Linked DNA regions of Homo sapiens: region 1 is linked to region 2. Evidence: promoter capture Hi-C in 16 types of primary human blood cells and fetal thymus (Javierre and others, 2016). All regions are on one chromosome and are shown on one strand. Each heading gives the region's core, a stretch centred on a gene start or on the middle of the fragment in contact. The rest is flanking DNA. Distances are from core to core; before and after follow the strand shown. Region 1 holds the start of STK24 (serine/threonine kinase 24). Region 2 has its middle 3.6 kb from the start of ARGLU1.

Evidence for each region. The method cuts DNA at HindIII sites, captures the fragments that hold promoters and counts their contacts. A CHiCAGO score of 5 or more calls a contact.
Region 1: the fragment with the promoter of STK24 here is called in contact with a fragment that was not itself captured in region 2 in 1 of 17 cell types (activated CD4 T cells); the score reaches 6.6 in activated CD4 T cells.

The regions. Positions count from the first base shown.
Region 1 is chr13:98,574,781-98,582,379 of GRCh38, forward strand. STK24 (serine/threonine kinase 24) reads right to left here and starts at 2,327. Exons shown (of 11, transcript NM_001032296.4): 1 at 1,965-2,327. The coding sequence starts at 2,006. It overlaps STK24-AS1 (STK24 antisense RNA 1), which reads left to right and starts at 2,475. Exons shown (of 1, transcript NR_046542.1): 1 at 2,475-4,061. RefSeq lists silencers at 1,361-2,230, 2,281-2,590, 2,611-2,760 and an enhancer at 2,851-3,040. The HindIII fragment of the contact is 9,197 bases long and covers 1-7,599 here.
Region 2 is chr13:106,568,342-106,575,071 of GRCh38, forward strand. No RefSeq gene overlaps it. Among named protein-coding and RNA genes, the nearest start is that of ARGLU1, 3.6 kb to the left of the region's middle. RefSeq lists an enhancer at 1-62. The HindIII fragment of the contact is 1,210 bases long and covers 646-1,855 here.

The sequences.
Region 1 (7,599 bases), core at 1,077-3,576, 8.0 Mb before region 2:
GTTGAGAGGCAAAGTTATTAAGGAAATGTATCTTCTTTTCCCAAGGTTTAAGAATTCTGACCCACTCAAAAAAAAAAGTGAGGATAAAAATGAAAAGGTGAGATACTAGATATCACCTGGTAACCATCTGATACTGACTTCACGGCACCAGCCAAAGGGGCTTTAGTACCTTTTCAAACTGATTCGCTATCCACAAAGGCCAATTAACCTAGTAAGTGAGGCATTTGTGCTAGATTCCAACCTGATGAACACGGTATAAATATCAACCTAAAGGAAATATTGATAAAACTTTTTTTTTAAATCATTACAAGAGTCCTTTCTTGCTCGACTAGTAAGAAATTACTTTTTTCACCCAGTTCACTCTGACCTACACACCTCTAAATTCATACCAAAGCGGCTTTAGAAAATACCAAGAAACCACATCTGATTGTTACCCAGCAGTCAGCAGAAGTTTAGGTTTTGAATGCATGCTAAATTCAACGCTCCTTAAATGAGAGTCGACAAAAGAATATTCTTCAAGCATCTTCCCAGTCACTCTTAAGATAATAACTTAACTGTTGCTGCTTAAATGTATATTTATTTACTGCTTAAACATATATACACACATATATATACTGCTTATATATACACACACACACACACACACACATATACACACACACACACTTGGACTAAAATTCTAGCTGCCATTAAAGTGGTAACTTTGAGTTCCTATTTTTCCAGAATTCAAACCTGAACAGTGAAATCCAGTTTTCTTTTTACGGTTTCAAAAAAAGAAGGGAGAGGGATGATCTCACTGGAAGAGGCGAGCAGACCCCAGAGGCAGTCCCAGGTCTGGGCTCTGTGCTTCTCAGCCCTCAAGACACAGGGAAGGAGCCTGTTGGTACCTGTAAATCAACCAGTAATCTACTTGGATGCTTTTGGTTTTCTTCAAACACTTAACGTTCACTCAGCTAAACTGGCAGAGCAAACTTTCATGACATATCCTAACTGCATCCTAAGATTTCCATCCTAAGCATTTTGCCACCATTTCTGCGCCTACAAAGTTTACAAGAGTTAGCCAAGGACGGTAGCTTTGTTTTTCAAAGGGCTAAAAGCAACGACAACGAAAACAACAACAACAAAAAACCTTTAACTTATACATGTAAATTTGAAATTCAACTCCTCTCCCACTCCCCAAAAAGTCACTGGTAGGCCAAGGTGTCACCAAGTACCGAAAGAGAGGTTTACTGGGCGAAGAATTCCTGTAAATGCAACCAAGTCTCAAAGTGAAAGTCCAGGGTCCCGGGGCCGGGCCCGGGACCCTGGTGCGCGGCTGTCCGAGGGATTCCTCCTTCCAGAAGGTTTGCAACTCGCACTTTCCCCCGGTCCGCAGGTGCACGGGGGCTCCGGGCAAAGCCACTGCAAGTGGAACTCGCGGTTACCTTCCTCCACTCCACCCTGCCTACTCCGCTCGGGCCCGGACGAGTCCAGGCGCGCTCCCCGTCCCCGCCCTGCCCAGGTCTCCCGCCCGCCTGCCCGGGGGTGGGGGACGAGCCTGGGGGACGCGTCCTGGGGCCCTCCGCCAACCCGGCCACCACGCAGGGCCCCGGGACCCGGCGGGGGCCTCCAAGGGCATCACTCCACCTCACTTCTCCCGGGGACAGGGCCACCCAGGGCCTGCAGCTCCGGAAGAGTGTTGGGGCGAGGGGAGCGCGGAGGACTAGGCGCCCGCACCCCCACATCCGGACCCAGGCCGCGGTTCCTACGGCTCCTGCACGCACACGCCGGAGACCTCGGCCGCCGGAGCCGGCAGGGACGCCCAGGGACTCGGACTCGGACCCCCGGCCGAGCCGGGCGCGCGGGGAGCCAGGCTCCGGCGCGACCCCGGCCGGCTGAGCGTAGGGGGACGCCGTGTGGATACCGCCAAGTTGCTGCTTCCGCCCCGGTCGCGCATCCCGGCCCCGCGGCCCGCGCCCGCCTACCTGCATGCCGGGCAGGCCCGACTGCACCGGGGAGTGAGCCATGGCGCTCAGGACGGCCACTTCCTGGGACGGGACGGCCGGGCCGCGACGATCCGCGCGGGGCGGCGAGGCCCGCGGGCCGCGCGCAGCCCTCGGGCGGCGGGGCCGGCCGGAGCCCGAGGCCACCCCAGCCCTGGCGGGTCCCGGCCGGGCGGCGGGGGCTCAGCGGCGGGTGGCGGGCCGCGTCTCCATGCACGGCGCCAGGGAGGAGCTGCTGGGGGCGCAGGGCCTCGCGCGCACTGCCGCCGCCGCCGCTGCTGCCGCTACTGCTGGGCTGGAGCCGGGCGGCCTGGGCCCGCGCGCGCTGGCCGCTGGAGCCGGAGTGGGCGCGCACAGCCCGCCGAGCCCGCGAGCGCCGAGCGCGTCCCGCCCCGGCCCGGCCCCCGCGCCCGCCCCCACGGCCCGGCCGGGGACCCCGCCCCGCGCTTCCGGGAGGGGGAGGGGAGAGGCCGGTGGCCGCGCGGGAGCCCTAGGCCGCAGCCGCCGCCTGTCGGCCCGGCCCGGGTCCCAGCTGCTCCTGCGGCGCTCCCACGCCCCCGCGGGCGGGCGGCGGGGCCGGGAGGGGGCCTCGGCTGGGGCGGGCGCCGGGAGGGACCGAGTCGGGGCCGGAGGCTGGCCGCGTGCCCACCGGGCCGGCGCCGGGGCGAGCCTGGGCCGCGGCCCCCTCTTCCCGCCAGCCAGCCCACCCCGCCCCGGCGGCCTCTGGGAAAACGCGTCCCGGGCGAGCCCCTGAGGGCAGGATCGGAGTCGGGGGCACCTGGGGAAGGAGAGCGCCCCGTGGGGCCTCGGCCGGTGGCCTGTGCCAAAAGGCCGGGCAGAGCTGCTTCGGTGTCTGGGTGAAGTTTCCAGCCAACCCAAGAAGGAAACCGAAAGGGAAGAGGCCGAGAGAGAGGTTAATTCCTAGTGCTTTGGTTACCGAAAACAGCCCGGCTGGGACTGCTGGGCTGGGAACTTAGCTAAGCAGTGCGGAGGCTGAACCCCACCATCTCTGGGATCCGCAGCAAATCAGAAGCCCCCACCCACGATAAGGGGAAAATGGGGCGCAGAGGGCAGGGAGGAAGGGAAGAGAATGGAAGGAAAGCGCGTCTGGACTTTGAACTGCAGCCCTCTCCCTCTTTCCCTTGCCTCGGAAGCTCCAGGCCCACTCAGCACCAGTTCTGTCTCCTCTTTTCAGCCGCCTTCTCTCTAGCTACTGAGGGGAAAAGTCAGGATGAAGCGGGTCCCTCGGCCTCCAGAAGGTGTTTTATTACAGTCGCAAACAGGTAGAGCGGCAGCCACCCCAGTGATGACTCCCTGCTCCTTAGATTGTAGGGACGCTGGCACCTCACTCATGCTCCTAAGTGGCCATTTTGCGCCCTGGCTGGGCGAGTTAGGCAGACAAAATGAGCCCCCAAAAGTTTAAAGGCCTCCACCAAAGGAGTATTTCTTTTCTGAGGTGTCATTGTATTCCATCCACGAACTTCAGTTCCCCCGGGTGCTCTGGATCTGACATGGAGTAGGATGCTAACATCTAATCCCTTCTTTCCCTTTGGAAAGATGCATGTTTTTTCTCGGAGTCCTAGGGAATACCTTAGAATACTTTCATGGTTGTCATTGGTACACCCATCCCTTGAGGAGCCCTGCCACCCGTAAGTAGGACTGCAAGGAAATACAAAATTAAGAGAAGTATGAACCCTGATACCCAGGAACTTAAAATCAGGTGTATAAATTTTGTACACCTAAAAAATATGGTACCTAAAGAGGCGAACAGCAAAACAAGCAAGAATGTGAATCTTTAAAATGTTTCTATTCTTCAGCGCAGCCCAGGAATTCTACCTAAAGTAACATATCCTAAGGCAACAACCAAGAAGTGTGGAAGAATGCATGTAAGAAGACACAGTGATGTTTAGAATCCTGGGGAAACGGAACAGCCAAAAAGTCTCACAGAGGTTAAGTAAATAATAGCATTTTCATACGAGTACTATGTAGTCATTTAAAATTATGTCTTTCAGTACCTAGTAATGGGGAAAATGTATTCATTATATATTATTAAAGAAAATACAGGGTACAAAACACTGTATATAGACTGATCTCAAATGACTATATATATATTAATATATATGGCCTACAGACACACAGTCATGTATTGCTTAACAATGGGTATACATTCTGAGAAATGTGTTCTTAGTTGATTTTGTCACGTGAGCATCATAGAGTGTACTTCCAGAAACCTAGATGGCATAGCCTACTACACACCTAGGCTATATGGTATGACGTATTGCACCTGGACCACAAACCTGAACAGCATGTGACTGAACTCAATACTGGAGGCAACTATAACACAATGGTAAATATTTGTGGATCTAAACATGTCTAAGCATAGAAAAGGGACAGTAAAAATATTCTTCTAGGGTCAGCAGAGCCAGGGCAATAACCTGGCACCAAGATAAAGAGCAAGAAACTAGATGAATGGATGGAAATGTCTGGATGCTGATCTGAGACATTACCATGGTAAATGCTCAGAAATCACTTTGCAGTGGGCTAATTGCCAGCAAATAAGTCACAGCAGATGGGGGACAAAGGCCCATAGTACCCTGGGTATAAAAAAATAACCGGAATCCTAGTTTGTGTCCTGAGGCTAGTGAGGCTCAAAACAGGGAGATTCCGGCAGGATGTAACTTCTCTGGACACAGTGACTTGCATCCATTAGCTGGTCTGTTGCCCCGAACCCTGTTTATCTTCTCTCCACACTGACCATTGTTTCATCCTTTGACAATGTTCATACTGTTGAGCACCATTCTTATCGAAAGAAGGGAAGGAAGCAACATGGGAGTTACTGGTTCTCCTTGGCCCTATGCAGGTAGTACCGAGTATTCCCCATGGCAGAAGTAGGTCTCCACCTTATTTGTTTTTGCACAACAGAGATGATGCACAGGGCCTGAGCCCGGGATCAGATCCGGTGCAATTGCCTATTATGTTCATTCATTCACACCTTTTTTGAATACCAACTATTAATACATGTCAGATACCCAGTTCAGTACTGGGCATATAAACATTAGATCCTCAGGTGCCTCTTAACCCATCCTAGGGACCTGGTCTCCCAGAATCCTAACTTTGGATGAATACAATACCATAATTGATTAAACTTAGAGTGGCAATAGCTATCATTTCCACCAAGGAAAGAAAAGGATCATCCTCTCACCCTCTTCCTCTTGTCACTTTCCCTCCACCCCCAATGTATGATTACAACAGGTTATACACTACCGTAAGTCCAGAAGGAGATTATGAGAGTCTCCATAGAGATGATGCATTTTATGGTCTCCATGGAGATACTAACCCATTGAGTTATTTACTTTATCCATTGAATTATTTTTCTTCCCTGGTCCTCTTTGTCTTTTGTGTTCACTTAAGGACATCAGTCTGGCAATGAATTATGATCTGAAATATATTCTGGACCACAAAGAATATTTCCATACCCCTATATGGAGCCCCTCCAAATATAAAGCCCCTATGTATTTGCTGCCCCTAAGCTAGTTTGTACGCACTCTCAGCAGAGCTCAGAGAGGAACAGAAAACAAGAATTCCACAATCAATCCCTTCACTTTTCTTTCTAAGTTGAAAAGATAAACACCCCCAAATGCTGCTTTATAAAGAACAGCTAGACAAGTAGAGCATTAGCAATTTAAATTCAGAGATTAAAGAAAGGGACTTACATGGTGAACTTTAAAGGGAGAAATAGGAGTAGCTTGGATAAGTAACTAACAGAAGGCTTAGACAAATTTCTACACATGTTCAGTAGGTGAAGACAAATTATCAAGATCAGTTTAAAGAAGAATGTCTAGTCATTGTTGGATGACACAATAGCAAGAAAAGGTATGCCAAAGCCCCAGAAAAATATCCCAGCTACATTGAGGAATGGTACCAATAAGGTTTCATTCTGTGCGTGGAGAGCTCAGAGGGCAGGCTCTTGCAGGGATATCACCCTAAGTAGGTTTTCAGTTGCACCCTGCCTTAGTTTGCTAGGGCTGCCGTAACAAAGAACCACCAACTGGATGGCCAAAACGACAGAAATTTATTTCCTCACCATTCTGGAGGCTGGAAGTCCAAGATGAAGGTGTCAGCAAGATTGGTTTCTTCCGAGGCCTCTCTCGGGCTTGTAGCGGCCAGCTTCTCCCTCTGTGTTCTCGTGGTCTTCACTGTGTGTTCCTGTGTCCTAATTTCCTGTTTTTATTATTTATTTATTTATTTATTTATTTATTTATTTATTTATTTTGAGATGGAGTCTCGCTCTGTTGCCCAGGTTGGAGTGCAGTGGTGAGATCTCGGCTCCCTGCAACCGCTGTCTCCCAGGTTCAAGCATTTTTCTTGCCTCAGCCTCCCTGGTAGCTGGGACTACAGGCGAGCGCCACCACACCCGGCTAATTTTTGTATTTTTAGTAGAGACGGGGTTTCACCATGTTGGCCAGGCTGGTCTCGAACTCCTGGCCTCAAGTGATCTGCCCACTTTGGCCTCCCAGAGTGTGTGAGGCACCACGCCTGGCCCTAATTCTTTGTTTTTAGAAAGATACCGGAGTCGTACTGGATTAAGGCTCATCCCAATTACTTCATTTTTGCTTAGTTACCTTATTAAAGTTCCTATCTCCAAATACAGCCACATTCTAAGGTACTAGGAATTAGGACTTCAGCATAGGAATTTTGGAGGGACACAAGTCAGCCCGTAACACACCTCCTTTTCTGCAAATGTGTGTCTGGTCAGCCCCCCTTTAGCTGGGTCTTCCAGGCTCAGCTTCAGGAATGAGAGCTTCCTTCTCCCTTGCCAAGGCCTGTGGACCTTTCTGCGCACTTCACATTGCACACTTCTGCTAATAAGCATTGCTTCATATTTCCTTGGGTGTAGGCCTTAAACTTTATCTTGCATAGAAACCAGAACACTAGTCTCCAATCACTGTACAACTGAGAGCAGAAACAGAGAATGCATAGGTGTTTGCTTGATAAAATATTCCTGATTAAAAGAAATCATCTGGAACACGTGACAAAAATCTGCCAGAAAAGGGTTCAGAATATTTTGCAGGCCTATCCATACTCAGTTCAGGCAAAAGATTTAAACAAGATCCATCTTTCTCCCCCACTGCCTCCTCCCCTGTGTTGGGAGGTGCAATTTACCAGGGGAGTTGGGGGTTGAGCCTCCAAGGGGGCTCTTTGTTGCACATGCTCTCTGCTGCAGTTCTGGGGGCTCACACCAGGGAACATCAGGCTGTTTAGAAGGACTCACTTGAACGAGCTCACTAGAAAAATTCTCATGTGCAATTTTGCTTGGCAAAGAACCAATGAACAGGGCTTGTCACCCTCTAAACAGTGGCCACTTGACCCTGCCAATCTGCTCATAAAGACTTCAGTATGCAAAGATTCATCAAGAGCTGTGTGTGTAGATTTCCCTTCCTCTTGAAGCTGGATTTGCTTTCAGACATACCCAGAAAGGGCATACATGAAATCATCCCCAGAAGGATGATGTCATCCAGCCTACAGTCACACAACTGCAGCACTAGTTTTTAAAAGCTCTTGGCCCTGTTTTCTGACAAGGAAGACAAATTGTAAGAAATCATTTTAATTTTCACTT
Region 2 (6,730 bases), core at 1-2,500:
GGTAAGATGCCAACGCCTGTTGAATGAATTAAGCACGTTTTAGTGGGATTTAAGTCCGGCCTCGCAGAAGTTGATTGATTGCATTATTTTCTAGGAGCTGGTCTTGTGGGGCAGCCCTAAAATGTATCTCCAAGTGACCCTGCACTCATCACTTGCTGCCTTGGACTTAGTTTCCTCATTCGTAGAATGGAGACACCACACTTTCTGAAGTGCTTATGAGACTTGCAGGAGGTAAGTAGGCAGCAGGTTTTGATGAATGTAACCTAATGCTTACTATAGGGCTTAATGTGCCTTCTAAATGCTTTAATGTATTAACAAGTGCTTAATTCTTACAATTCTGAATTAAGTACTACTATTATCCACGTTTCAGAGATGAGGACCCTGAGGTCCACAGAGGTTAAATAAGGGTCACACAACCAGTAGGTGACAGAGCAGGGACGTGAACCTAGATCATATTGTGCAAAGCCCTTGCACATAACCAGCAAGCCCTCCTCAACCCTAGCCACGAAAAGCTTCGTCCCTATGTGGCACAACAAACTGTGTCATTGTTAAGACCTAAAAGGAAAAGGCAATGTTAATATTTGCAGATGACAGGAACCCTTGAAAATCTAGGTGCCTCAATTTTAAAATTGAGTGCAATAATAAAGCTTAAGTAAGTAGAAGAAAAATTAGAATTATTTGAATAAGCAAAAACATATTAAAAATGAAATAATATTTCCTCCACAATGGCAACAGAAACCATAAAATACTTAGGGATAAACTTTAACAAGTTACACAATCTTTATTATAAACCTTTACTGAAAAGGCAGTAATAAGGCCCTAGTAAATGTAAAACATGCTGTATTCTTAGGTGAGTAGTCAGTATCAAAAATACTGTCAATTCTTCCCAAGTCAAATTACAAAATTAGTGCAATTCTCATGAGAGTCCCAAATTCTCTTGGGGATATGTGTTTTAGAACTAATTAATTTTAAGTTTTATATGGAAGATCACATAATTAATTATCAAGAAAACTTGGAAACAAAGAAGAGTAGTGTATTAGTCTGTGTTGACTGCTGTAACAAAATATCATAAACTAGGCAGCTTATGAACAACAAATTTATTTCTCACAGTTCTGAAAGTTGGAAATCCAGGATCCAGGTGCTAGCCAATCTGGTCGCTGGTGAGGACCCAGAGATTCACAGATGACTCACAGAAGGCACCTACTCACAGTGCCCTCACATGATAGAAGGGGAAAGCTAGCTCTCTGAGCTCTCTTTTAGTGGCACTTCTAGGGTCTGAAAGTTTGTGTTCCCTCAGATTCATATGTTGAAACCTAATCACCAGTGCAATAGTATTAAAAGGTGGGGCTTTGGGATATTGATTAGGTCATGAGGGCTCTAACCTCATAACTGGAATTAGTGCCTATCTCAGCCCATTTCCACTGCTATAACAGAATACTTTAGACTGAGTGATTTATAAATAATAGACATTATTTCTCAGAGTTCTGAAGGCTAAGAAGTCCAAGATAAAGGTACCAGCAGAGTCAGTGTCTGATAAGAGCTTGCTATCTGCTTCCAAGATAGTGCCTTGTTTTGCTGGGTCCACAGAAGGGGACGAACACTGTGTCCTCACATGAGGGAAGGGATGGGAGGCAAAAGGGCAAAAAAAAAGGGGGGGGAACTAGGACACTCCTGTCAACCTCTTTTGTAAGGATACTATTCCCATTCAAGAGGGTGGAGCCTCATTTCTTAATCACTTCCAAAACGGCTTCAGCTCTTAATGTTATTATAGTGGATTTTAGGCTCCAACATAGGAATTCTAGAGAGACACATACATTTAAGCCATAGCAATGCCCTTATAAAAGGGGCCCAAGGAAGCTTGTTCACCCGTTCTTTACCATGTGAAGACATAGAAAAAGGTGTCATCTATGAAGCAGAGAGTGAGGCCTCACCAGACACTGAATCTGCCAGTGCCTTAATCTTGGACTCCCAGCTTCCAGAACTCTGAGCGATAAATTTCTGCTGTTTATAAATGACCCAGTCTGAGGTAGTCTTATAGTAGGCTGAATGGACTAAGATAGGAACTAATCCAATTCATGAGGGCAGAGCCAGCAGCCTCACCTCCTAATACCATCGTCTCCCAGCTGCCCCGCCTCCTAATACCATCGTCTCCCGGCAGCCCCGCCTCCTAATACCATCGTCTCCCGGCAGCCCCGCCTCCTAATACCATCCTGTCCCAGCAGCTCCACTTCCTCATACCATCATGTCCCAGCAGCCCCACCTCCTCATACCGTCATCTCCCAGCAGCCCCACCTCCTCATACCGTCATCTCCCAGCAGCCCCACCTCCTCATACCATAATGTTCCAGCAGCCCCACCTCCTAATACCTTTGTCTCCTATCAGCCCCACCTCCTAATACCATCGTGTTCCAGCGGCTCCACCTCCTAATACCGTCATCTTCCAGCAGCCCCACCTCCTAATACCATTACATTGGTGATTAGATTTCAACATCTGGGTTTGGGAGGGCACACAAACATTTAGACCGTAGCAAACAGTACCTGTTTGCCCTACACAAAATTGAATAAACTGAACAACAAGATTTTAGGACAGAAATAGGAAAACAGTGCAATAGAAGGATAGATCTATTCTTTTACTTCAGATACGTTCAAGTAAAATCACATTTAATATAGAATGTATAGAATTACCCCCATTATAGTAGAAATATTTCTGTCAATCTAACCATCTGTCTGTACGTATCTGTACCTATCTATCCAGTGGGAATGATATATATGGTTTATATATCCATATATGGTGTGAATATATGATATGATGTATAGATATATCTGGAATTTTGTTTATATATATGTATATTACATATATATATAATCCAGAATGATGTCTGTTTAATGATAAAGATAGTTATTTCCAATGAGTTAGTGTATAAATTTTCTAGAGCTGCCCCGACAAATTACCACAGACTGATGTCTTAAATGAACAGAAATGTATTCACTTACAGTTCTGGAGTCCAGCAGTCCAAAATCAAATGTCAGCAAAGTTGGTTCCTTTGGAGGCTCTGGAGAAGAATCTGTTCACTGCCTCTCACTTAGCTCCTGGTGCTTGCTGGCATTCCTTGGCTTTTAGTCCCTGTCTCCATCTTTACTGTACGTCTGTCCTCTTCTTATAAGACCACTGGAGATTGGATGTAGAGGTATAGGGGATTATGGAGCTTTTAAAAGAGGATGATATTGGGGCGGGCGTGGTGGCTCATGCCTGTAATCCCAGCACTTTGGGAGGCTGAGGCGGGTGGATCACAAAGTCAAGAGTTCAAGACCAGCCTGGTCAAGATGGTGAAACCCCGTCTCTACTAAAAATACAAAAGTTAGCCAGGCGTGGTGGCGGGTGCCTGTAATCCCAGCTACTCAGGAGGCTGAGGCAGAGAATTGCTTGAACCCAGGAGGCAGAGGTTGCAGTGAGCTAAGATCGGGCTACTGCACTCTAGCCTAAGTGACAGAGCAAGACTCTGTCTAAAAAAAAAAAGATGATATTTACCCTGCTCAGGCTCTGGCCATGTCTTTTGGCTGCTGCCAGGAAAAAAAAAAAAAAAAAAAAAAAGGAAAAAGTGCATGAAAGCCCTTAATTTACCAGGGATCATCTCTGAGGATGCATTGAAGGAATGAGGAACACACACATTTTATGCCTGCATTTTATAGTATAATTATCAAAATCTTGACATTTCACACTCCCTGAACTCACCTTATTTTCTCATGTATTTCTTTATTGACTATTTTTTGCCACCAGAATCCAAATTCTCGGCATCTTGACTGTTTTGTGTCCACTGACACCCTATGGGTTAGCTAACCTCGATAAATATATGCCGAATACACCTTGAAAGAAGAGAATTGCATGGTTTTTTATCCTAAGTATAAGTTTGGCTTCATTTGTTTTGTTTTGTTTTGTTTTGTTTTCAGACTCTTAAAATTTTTAGTTGCCTCCCTTCCTCCATTCCCTTCTCCAATAAAAGCATTTTCTCAGTTCATGTTTGAATAATTAGGATAGCCAAATATAAATAACACATCATTCAAATCCAGATCATTCCAAAGAACAATTTAATGTAAAAAATAGGAGATGCATGAATGTATCTTTCCTCCTTAATATGGTTTGGCTGTTTTCCCAACCAAAATCTCATTTTGAATTGTAATCCCCATAAACCCCATGTGTCAAGGGAGAGACCAGGTGGAGGTAATTGAATCATGGGGGTGGTTTCCGCATGCTGTTGTCATGATGGTGAGTGAGTTCTCATGAGATCTGATGGTTTTATAAGTGGTAGTTCCTCCTGGGTTCATTTCTTCTTCCTGCCACCTTGTAAAGAAGGTGCCTTGCTTTCCCTTCACCTTGGGCCATGATTGTAAGTCTCCTGAGGCCTCCTCAGCCATGCTGAAATGTGAGTCAATTAAACCTCTTTCCTTTATAAATTACCCAGTCTCGGGCAGTTCTTTATAGTAGTGTGAAAACAGACTAATATACTCCTAATTCTTAAATTACTGATCCTAATTCTTAAATTAAATTGATCCTCAATTGTTTTTGCCAACTTTTCAAAGTTTGAGATGTATTTTACAACATGCCCATGAAGCGTCGTAAGTATTGATTGCCTTGTTAATGGAAAATACCATCTTAGTTGCTCAGAGAGTTATGTCTACACTTACAGTGCAGGTGGAGTCCTTGGGCACCATGGTCCCACTCTCTCTATAGTGTTGTTTCTTAGAATCTCACCTACCTAACTTTTCCTGAGCTGTCTGACACCCAGTTTATGCCCATTTCTCCCTATCCCACTGACTCCCAGTCCCTTGGTAGGTTGTCTCCTTGGCAGCACTTTATTCATAAGTTCTAAAAATGACATATAAATGTGTTCAATAATTTAAAGGTAAACGTCAACACAATGAAAATAAACCTAAAAAAATAAAAATAAACATGTTCATTAATTATTTAATATTCATCTCTCTAGCTAAAAAGTGAGCTCCTTTGGTTTGGGGGTTGGCGGGGCAGGGGGTTGGGGGAGTTGGCGTCCGTGTCTAAGATTCGGGTCATCCATCTCAGGCCTAGGACCTAGGAGCACATGATGGGACGCGGTCAACAAAACATTCAGAATGAGCAAATCAATATGGAACGTGTTGTCTGGCTTTTCTTGGCAGCATGGGTTCTTTGAAGAGTTTTAAAGAGAATTCACAATTACTGAATATTACATAATTTGAAGATGAGTAAACTGCTTTCATCACTGCTCTGGCAATAAAATCTGGAAATCTGGAGAACTCTAGCTTCTAAAAACTATCTTATGATCCAATTCAGAATGTGTAGTTCTGCACACATCGTACATTTCTTTTTCCTAAGCCAAATGATCATCAATTCATCTAAAACCATTGTCAGGAGGCCCTATGCTATGCAAGACTAATTGTGAGTGTGACTGTATGCAAAAACAAACAAACAAACAAGGGAAAAAAAGCTTGTTAAAAAGGGAATTCTTTACTCAAGAGGCAGGAAAAAAATACCTCCTGACTAGGGAAAGCACATATTGATAGTTCCAGCAGCAACAAACCTGGAGATCTCTGTCATTTCTGTTCAAGTGCATGAAAAGCAAGGCAGCAAAAGCTGTTGGTGCTGTGAGCATAGAAGGCTAAGGACATACTTCCCAGCAACTTGCTCGGACTGGACGGTGACTGGAGCTGATTCCTGAGATGGGAGTGTGAGCTTGGCAGGCTTTGACATGGAGCCAGGCCAAAGTGGGAGGCCAAATTTACAGTGTCAAATAAACCATGACTTAGGCGAGATTTTGTTCAAAAGTATCATTGGAAGGGGTTGGATGGTGGTGGGGTGTGGGGAGACTATTGTAATAAATAGAACACTCTACACATGAGATCTGCAGGCATCTCAAGAGTTAGGCAAAAAGTGGTTTTGTTTTATAGGAGGAATAAACAAGGAAGTGATGTGAGGAAGTGGATGAAGGGGTCCCAAAAGTGGGTAGTGGATCAGGGAACATTCTTCTGGAGGCCAGCCTGTTCTTAGGAGTGAGTGAAGACCAGCTCAGGCTGATGGTGGGCCAAGGTTCTGGGACCTGGGGAAAGGACAGAAACTTAACCAAAGTTCAATAAATAAGAATTTTGTTTCCATTAATTTCAGGGGAAAAAATAGTTCAGCTAATCTATGAGGCAAAGAATAGGAATTTGGAAGGCCCAGTCTGGCCTGTCATAAGTAAACAGGGGCAGGGGTGGGGTGATATGGTTAAGCTTTGTGTCCCCACCCAAATCTCACCTTGAATTGTAATCCCCATAATCCCCACTTGTCAAGGGAGAGACCAGGTGGAGGAAATTGAATCATGGATGTGGTTTCTCCCATGCTGGTCTCGTGATAATGAGTGAATTATCATGAGATCTGATGGTTTTATAAGGGGCTCTTCTCCCTTCGTTCAACACTTCTCCTTCCTGCCGCCTTGTGAAGAAGACGCCTTGCTTCCCCTTGGCCTTACACCATGATTGTAAGTTCCCTGAGGCCTCCCCAGTCATGCTGAACTGTGAGTCAATTAAATCTCTTTCCTTTATATTAGGGTGGTGCAAAAGTAATTGCAGTTTTTGCCATTGAAAGTAATAAATTACCCAGCCTTCAGCAGCTCTTTATAGCAGTATGAAAACAGACTAATACAGGGGGCTTCCATGAGTCTAATTTAAGTCATACAAGGAAGAGGGATCTTGAAGTTAAGTCA